2 separate regions of the Homo sapiens genome follow, and region 1 is linked to region 2. The links are contacts of gene promoters, found by promoter capture Hi-C in human tissues and cell types (Jung and others, 2019). All regions are on one chromosome and are shown on one strand. The core of a region is centred on a gene start or on the middle of the fragment in contact, and the rest is flanking DNA. Distances in the headings are between cores, read along the strand shown. Region 1 has its middle 19 kb from the start of JARID2-DT. Region 2 holds the start of RNF182 (ring finger protein 182).

Region 1 (3,969 bases), core at 511-3,010, 1.3 Mb after region 2:
CTGTCCCCGAGACAACAGAAACCAAGGCACAGACTACTAAAGGGAAACAGTTCCAAGTGAATCTGGCATTCAGGGCTCCAGTAGACACCTCATACTCCACTCCAGCCCTTTCCCATTTCAAGGGCACCTTTGTCTCCAGGCTGAGGCTCCTGGAATATGCACAGATCTTGCTCCACGCCACTAGTGCCCTTTGTTTCGCCTTCCTCTCACTTTCTCCATTGTTCTGGAGACTTAAACGTCACTGTTAAATTTGAAAGTCCTACTCAAGTCCTGCCCTTTGTAGGAAGCTTTCTCAACCTGCTGGATCTCTCACTGCCTCTTTTCTGAATTGTATGGGATTTCTTTCTTTCTTTTGTTTTTTCCCAGTCTCGCTCTGTTGCCCAGGCTGGAATACAGTGGTGCGATCTTGGCTCACTGCAAGCTCCGCCTCCCGGGTTCACGCCATTCTCCTGCCTCAGCCTCCCAGTCCAGTAGCTGGGATTACAGGCACCCGCCACCATGCCCGGCTATGAATTCTATGATATTTCTTAATCTAATCTAAAATGTTTATTTGTACATAATCATAGGCCACCTTATGCTGTTATTTAATTTCTCTTGAGGATATAATTTTGTTCCTTATAGGCAAGGGTCATTTTTTACATGACTTTTTACTCCCTTCAATATCAAGATCAGGCATCAGACACAGGGGTTGGGCGCCGTGGCTCAGGCTTGTAATCCCAACACTTTGGGAAGACTAAGCGGATGGCTTGAGCCCAGGACTTTGAGACCAGCCTGGGCAACATGGTGAAACCCCATTTCTCTCTCTTTTTTTTGTTTTTTAAAGAGAGATCAGATACATAACAGGTCCTTAATATATCTACAACAAATTAGGGGAAAATATGAAATTTTGGGACAGCAAGAAACATATTAACATTTAACGTCAGCAAACTATCAGGAGTTGGGAATGAAGTAGAACCCAAAGTCGAACCCTCTTGGGGTTTGTAGTCTAATGAAGGGAGGTAATTAGACAATCACACATAAATACCCTTTAACACCAGTGACTGAAGAAAAACACTATAGGCTGGGCGTGGTAGCTCACGCCTGTAATCACAGCACTTTGGGAGGCAGAGGAAGGTGGATCACGAGGTCAGGAGATCGAGACCATCCTGGCCTATATGGTGAAACCCCGTCTCTACTAAAAATACAAAAATTAGCTGGGCATGGTGGTGCGCACCTGTAGTCCCAGCTACTCAGGAGGCTGAGGCAGGAGAATCGCTTGAACCTGGGAGGTGGAGGTTGCAGTGAGCTGAGATCACGCCACTGCACTCCAGCCTGGCAATGGAGTGGGATTCTGAAAAAAAACAAAACAACAACAAAAACCACTATAGTTGAAGAGAGTGTTATCTATAACGAAATTTACTAGGTAGTTTGGGAAATTAAAATCTTATAAAGGAGCTGCCAGTCAGGTGCAGTGGCTCGAGCCTGTAATCCTAGTACTTTGGGAGGCCGAGGAGGATGGTTCACCTGAGGTCAGGAATTCAAGACCAGCCTGGCCAACATGGTGAAACCCCGTCTCTACTAAAATATAAAAATTAGCCAGACATGATGGCGGTTGCCTATAATTCCAGCTACTTGGGAGGCTGAGACAGGAGAATCACTTGAACCTGGGAGACAGTGGTTGCAGTGAGCCGAGATTGAGCCACTGCACTCCAGCCTGGGCAGCTGAGCAAGACTCCATAAAAAAAAAAAAAAAAAAAAGGAGCTGCTAGGCCAGAATCGGTTTGCAGCTTCCTTGCTGGTTCCTTCCACATCACTCCTGCAAGGAACAGGGAACTAAAACATCTACATAAACCTGAATTCTCAAACCTGAATGAACCTCACAGTTCCCTAGCCAGCTTGTTAAAACACACATTGCTGGGTGCCCCCCCACCCGCCGCCCCAGTTTCTCATTCAGAAGGGCTGGGTAATTTGCATTTACAACAAATAATAAGAGACCCTGATACCCCTGGTCTGGGGAAGAAACCCTGAGAATTTATGGGCTGGACCTTCTTGGAAACTTATCATGGGCACTGATGTACAATTTCTGTATGTCTTTTTTTTCCATGTGCATATCTGGTTTTTTTGTTTTTTTGTTTTTTTGTTTTTTTTTTTTTTTTTTTGAGACAGAGTCTCACTCTGTCGCCCAGGCTGGAGTGCAGTGGTATGATATCAGCTCACTGCAACTTCCACCTCCTGGGTTCAAGCCATTCTCCTGCCTCAGCCTCCTGAGTAGCTAGGACTACAGGTGCATGCCACCACGCCCAGCTAATTTTTTGTATTTTCTTATAGATGGGGTTTCACTGTGTTGCCCAGGCTGGTCTGGAACTCCTGAGCTCAGGCAATCCACCTGCCCCAGCCTCCCAAAGTGCTGGGATTACACACGTGAGCCACCACACCTGGCCCTTTTTTTTTTTCATGTAGACTGCAGTCTCCCACAGGGCAGGCAGTATTTTATTGAGGATATACTTTTGTTCCTTATAGGCAAGGGCCATTTTTTACATGACTTTTTACTCCCTTCAATGTCAAGATCAGACATCACACACAGGGGCTGGGCGCCGTGGCTCATGTCTGTAATCCCAACACTTTGGGAGGACTAAGCAGATGGCTTGAGTCTTTTTTTTTTTTTTTTTTTGAGACAGAGTCTAGCTGTGGCCCAGGCTGGAGTGCAGTGGTGCGATCTTGGCTCACTGCAACCTCTGCCTCCCAGGTTCAAGCGATTCTTCTGCCTCAGCCTCCTGAGTAGCTGGGATTACAGGCGCGCAACACCATGCCCAGCTAATTTTTGTATTTCAGTAGAGACAGGGTTTCACCATGTTGGCCAGGCCAGTCTCGAACTCCTGACCTCAAATGATCCATCCACCTTGGCCTCCCAAATTGCTAGGATTACAGGTGTGAGCCACCAAGCCCAGCCTTTTTTTTTTTTTTTTGAGTTGGAGTTTTTGCTCAGGCTGGAGTGCAATGGCAGGATCTTGGCTCACTGTAACCTCTGCCTCCCGGATTCAAGCTATTTTCCTGCCTGAGACTCCCAAGTAGCTGGGATTACAGGAATGTGCCACCATGCCTGGCTGATTTTGTATTTTTAGTAGAGACAGGGTTTTACCATGTTGGCCACGCTGGTCTCGAACTCCTGACCTCAGGTGATCCACCTTGCTTGGCCTCCCAAAGTGCTGGGATTACAGGTGTGAGCCCCTGTGCCCGGCTGAATTCAATATATTTTTGAAAGCTAGAGAAGAAAGCAAATTGAGTCCTTAATGGCAAAAATAAGGGAAAAAAATTTGCATTCTTTCAAGTCGTGGCCAAATTAATGGAAATAAGTAGTACCGGTATTCATAGTAGGACCTTCTGAGTAAGCCAATTCTCCTCCATAGGACTGAATTATTCTCAAATTAAAATAATCATCCATGAGGTCTACATTTCATGACTTAGTCCATCCATGCATACAACCCAATTCCTACCACAATCTGAATCAGTTTAAACATGATTGAACGTCACTATGCAGGATTTATCATATTTGCGACAGGAAAAACATTCGGTTTGGCAGGAAACAAATGATATTACAGGGCCCAAAGGTGAGTAATTGGCCCTAATGACTTGGAAATAAATTTGAATTCGCATTGGGTAGGCTGTATAAATATATACTGTATAACTGAATGCCTGGTGCTTTGGGGGGACAAGCGGGGTGGGAGTGGGGGGCGAGGGGAGGGGAGAGCATTGTTGTCAGCCTCTCCCTTGCAGCTGGTGCCATTCCTACTTTCTTCTCCTCCCCAAGCTGAATGACAGTAGGTTAAAGGAACTGTTGAAGCACAGACAATGAGCAAAGAAAGTGGCAATTCACAGCCTATTAACCTTGGATTTTGGAAGTTGTGCCACCCCCCCACCCCGACTCTCCACTACAGCTGGCTTTAAAATCACAGCTTTTAAGGATTCGCCTCCAGGTCTAAGGTGGGAGTT
Region 2 (4,453 bases), core at 1,251-3,750:
GTTCCAAGTCTTTGAAATCTGGTGTGTATTTTGCACTTACTGAACATACCAATTCAGTAGCTAATTCATATGTGGCTAGCAGTTACTGAATTAGACTGTGCAGCTCTAGATCTTTTTAGGAAAGCAAATTCATTATTTTAACCTCATTTCAAAAATGGTGAGAATAAGAAAGACTAGTCATGTATCCACACATTAATTTTTAAGCTTTAGTATCTTCAGTTTCAGTTTAGCTAAACAGACTAAAAGCTGCCACTTAACCTATTCAAATGATATCCCCTGGTAAGTAAGGTGGCACATTTTAAGATGGTTTCCTGACAAGTCTTTTAATTTTCTCCAAGAGGCAGAATGGAAGCAGACCTTAAGATAAAGCTAAACCTCTTTTGGAAAAATGAATGTCTGGAAGAATGTCTCACAGAATAACGCAGGACCAGGTCACTAAGCAATGCTCTAAGTGGGGACACAACGTGGACTTTTCCAAGCCTTCAGCTGAGGGCAGGGATGGCCAAGTCAATGGTCCCTCCCTGTTCTGTATTCAGTTTTTGATCAGGCAGTAATGTGCATGCAGGTCAACAAACATTTATTAAAGCTTTTTGTTTTTGCTTCTTCATTGATAAATTACTAATAAATGCTCATTTGAAAAAGCCAAACAAACCAAATATGTGTACTAAATTGTACATCGTAAGAGGTAACTGTCCCTTCAATTTTTTTTGTAGTTAACAGGTTACCACTTCTAGCAATTAGGTAGGCATTCTTATAGACCTTTATCCCTATGTTTTTGTTCTGTTCCTATATATCCAGTTTTTTTGTACAGAATGGGATCACCCACACATACGGTTCTGAGCCCCCCTTTTCCATTTAATAAGAAATCAATATCTATGAATTTTATATATTTTATTCTTATTAATGGATGCATAGTATTACATGGTATGAAGTGCCACATTATTTAACCATATCACTATTGATGGGCATATAAGTTGTTTCAAACATTTACTATTACAAAACTTCTGCAATGCATATCCTTTTATATCTATCATTACACATTTGTGTGTTTCTGTATGACAGATCTCTAGAATTGAGATAGCTGGGAGAAATGTATGTGCATTTTGAATTCTGGCAGGTATTGCCAAATGCTTAATGGCCTGCCAAAAAGACCTTGTCTTTTGACTTCATCTGGAATATTATTGACTTCATTCAGAATATTCCCATTACAAGAAAGTGGCCAGTCTCTCCGAGGAACAAACTGTTTTCCTTTTCCACCATGAAATAGATCTTATCTTTTCATTAGTTAATATAGGTGTACCTTCAAATGGCAATAACATTGTTCTGCTTTGTGGCTTCTCAAGTAGTAAACCCAGAAAACATCAGCTACCGTGGATTTTATTATAAATCATTGACATTCCTTTGGTGATTCACAAATGCCAAAAAATAAATGTCATGTTCCCCAGGGTTTGAAGAAAGACACTGTAGCTTTTGGATTCAGCAACGGATCTTTCAAGAAAACAGTATGGAGGGATGACTCACTCCCCCCATGGAGGCTGCCCTCTAGTTCGTCCTTTAGAGGAAGCATGACCAAGGGTCTGCTGGTACTTTTCTCTCCCTCTCTAAGAATTTCCTCAGGAGAGGAAAAAGTTAGCTTTCTTTTCTCTGCTCCTGAGTGCCATGGCCTGCAGTACGTGACCAGTCCTTGGCACAGAGTCACTCAGGGCTCATGGTAGATGCTTAGCGGTCACAGCCAGTAGCTGCGCAGTGTGGCAGCAGCTGAGATCCATACTGCAGCCTGAAAGTTGTGTTTCAGCTTCTGAGGTTACAAGTGTATCCAGTGTTTACATCAGAGATAAAGCCCCCTTTCCCCTCTCTCCTACGGGAGCCCTCAACAAGACAGATACACGGGTTGGGTGGAGTGAGACCACATCCAGCAGAGGCAAAGCTTGCTAAAAGAGAGAGGAGGAGGAGGGGGAGAGGGAGGAGGCGGCACGGCGTCCCTTGGCAGCTCCGTGCATGCTGCGGCAGTTGCAACAGGAGAACCGAGTACCAGTTGCTCAACACTTTATCACTTTGCATTGCTCTTTCTCCTCCCTTAAGTGAATTTCCATTTTGAGGGTACAGCTCCACAGGAGAAAGGTGTGGTGGTGGTAGTGGTGGAGGGTGTCTGTGGGGGGGATGGTGGTGCGACGGGAGTTGGAATGTCCAGTGTGGGGAAGCAAAGGAGTGCCTACTAGGATGCGAATACCACTTGGCCCTGGGCTCGCTCCGCTTTAGCCTTCCCCTCTCGCTGGGGAGAAACAGGCGGTTTGTGAGGGAGACTGAGAGAGGGGCGTGTTTGTGGTGGTGGCGGCCCATCGGGGGTCCTTGTCCTCTCCGAATACCCGGACTGCTGAGGGGAAGGGCCGGGGGGGCCCCGGCGGTTGCCATGGTGACGCAGGGTCGGCGGCTCAGCGCCGTAGAGACAAAGCCGCCCGCCCGCCAGCCCGCTAGCTCCTCGCGCGAGCTCCTCCTCCACGGGAACCTCCCTCCCCTCCCAGGCGCCGCCGCAGCCGGAGCGGCTCCCGGGCCCTGGGCCGCCGCCGGCCAGGTAAGGCGATCGCGCCCGCGGCCGGGGAGGGGTCGGCGGGACGCCGGGCCTCCCCAACGCTGGGGCAGCAGCCAGCCCCGCAGTCCTGGACGGCGCCGGGCCGCCCAAGCGCGCCGAGGAGAGGGGGCGGCAAACTTCGGGCCGAGCGGCGCCGGGGCCCGCGCGCGGAGTCTCCCTCCGGGCACCACGGGGGCCGCCGTCCTGGCACCAACTTGAGGGGCTGTGCGGCGGAGGGCGGCTGCGGAGCGCCCGCGCGGGCTGCACCTGCTCAGGGAGCTGCCCCTCTGTTGTTGTTGTTATTTTCCTTCTTGGCGTGCCATCGAGGCTTTTGGGGGAAAAAAAGGTATGAAAGTATTTACCTTTGGACTTTCATGTTTCATGGCATTCTCTTTGAGGAGGGGTTGGGAGGGTAGTAAGAGGGACAAGCGAAAGATTTTTACGAATCTCTGAAAAGTGAGCCCATTTTTATGCCTGTGGCTGAAGCATTTTGAGGAGGCTTCTGAAGTTCGTTTGGATATTGAATCGAAAGACCTTTTTTTCTTTGGAAGGTGCAGTTGCACCTATAACTGGATGGTAAGGGTAGCCCGGCTTTCCCCGACTAGCAAGACCAGAATGTAGAGCAGTACCGATACTTTGTCAAGGAGATACTTGGCACCGAGGTCATTGCTTTTGTTTCTAGAAGGTATTGTGTTCATGCTGTAAGGAACTGGAAAGTGCCTTTTGTTTTTATGTGTAGGGAGGCAATCCAAAGCACCTCTGGAGGCAGGTAGCTGGGCGGTGTTTGCATCGGTGTTTATGAGTGGGATGATGAGGACCACGATGCGGTTGCCACTGGGGCACTGGATAGGTTATAGGTACCTTTCTCAGTGGCCCCAACCCTTGCAATCATTTCGTGATAGTTTGTTGCAGACGCGAAGCACAGATTTAAATTGTGACTGTGAAGACTTTTTTTTTTGGTACTTAGACATCATCTTACATGTAGTAATATGAAAGAAAACAGATACATTTTCAGAAATACAGTTGATCAATTCAGAAGGAAATTGTATATATGTTAATAAGATTTGTTTTAAATCATATTTAAACAATATGAGATGTCATATTGATAACTGGAAAATAATCTAACATATAAAATTGTATATCCAACTTAGTAAAATAATGTATAAGTTGGAATAGGTCATTTAAAGAACTATATGGAATGCAAGAAATTATATTTTTGCTAGAGAGTAATTAATGAAAACAGTACCACTGATCATTTTGAATTGCAGTTAAGTTGATTGGAATTCTGCATATTACAGCTACTTGAGGTGTCAGGCAAAGAGTGATTATTTAATATTCCTCTTCCCTCTTTTGGGATTTCAACACCTGTTAGCCTGCTGATTACTAGGTTTCTCAGTCTGTTCATATTTGCCAGCAACTTCAAGTAATGCCACTTCATTAGAAGATTGTATTGGAAACTAAAGGATTGAAGTTGCAATTAACAGTTTGCAGGTTATTTCACAATTGGGCTTGTTTTTAAACTGAATTTTACCTGTGGAAGATTCACAGATGCTCTGCTAAATACTCTTTCATGACGGTAATAAAATCGTACATTGATTAAAACGAAGTAGATCTGTTTTGAGAAGATAAACGGGAGAGAAAAGTATTTTCTCACTTAAGCATGAACAGCAAATAGGATATTGAAGCCTAGGCACATTATATAGACAGAGAATGTAGTTTTATGTTTTGTACTAAAAATAAATTATTTTGTGTGTTTGTGTGTGTGTGTGTGTTTTTTTTTTTTTCCTGAGGGACCAACAGAACAGCTTTATTCAGATCTTTGTTAGCAAAACCAGTATTCAAGTTCAAGGACTTGGTCCGTGCTTTCTGCCAGATGAAACCCAC

Evidence for each region. Contacts are between HindIII fragments. The study calls those that stand out against the background at their distance.
Region 1: a fragment that was not itself captured here is called in contact with the fragment with the promoter of RNF182 in region 2 in 1 of the 25 tissues and cell types used here (lymphoblastoid cells).

What each region holds. Positions count from the first base shown.
Region 1 is chr6:15,223,923-15,227,891 of GRCh38, forward strand. No RefSeq gene overlaps it. Among named protein-coding and RNA genes, the nearest start is that of JARID2-DT, 19 kb to the right of the region's middle. The HindIII fragment of the contact is 9,363 bases long and covers 1-3,969 here.
Region 2 is chr6:13,922,452-13,926,904 of GRCh38, forward strand. It overlaps RNF182 (ring finger protein 182), which reads left to right and starts at 2,501. Exons shown (of 3, transcript NM_152737.4): 1 at 2,501-2,572. RefSeq lists an enhancer at 1,396-1,896. The HindIII fragment of the contact is 4,770 bases long and covers 1,257-4,453 here.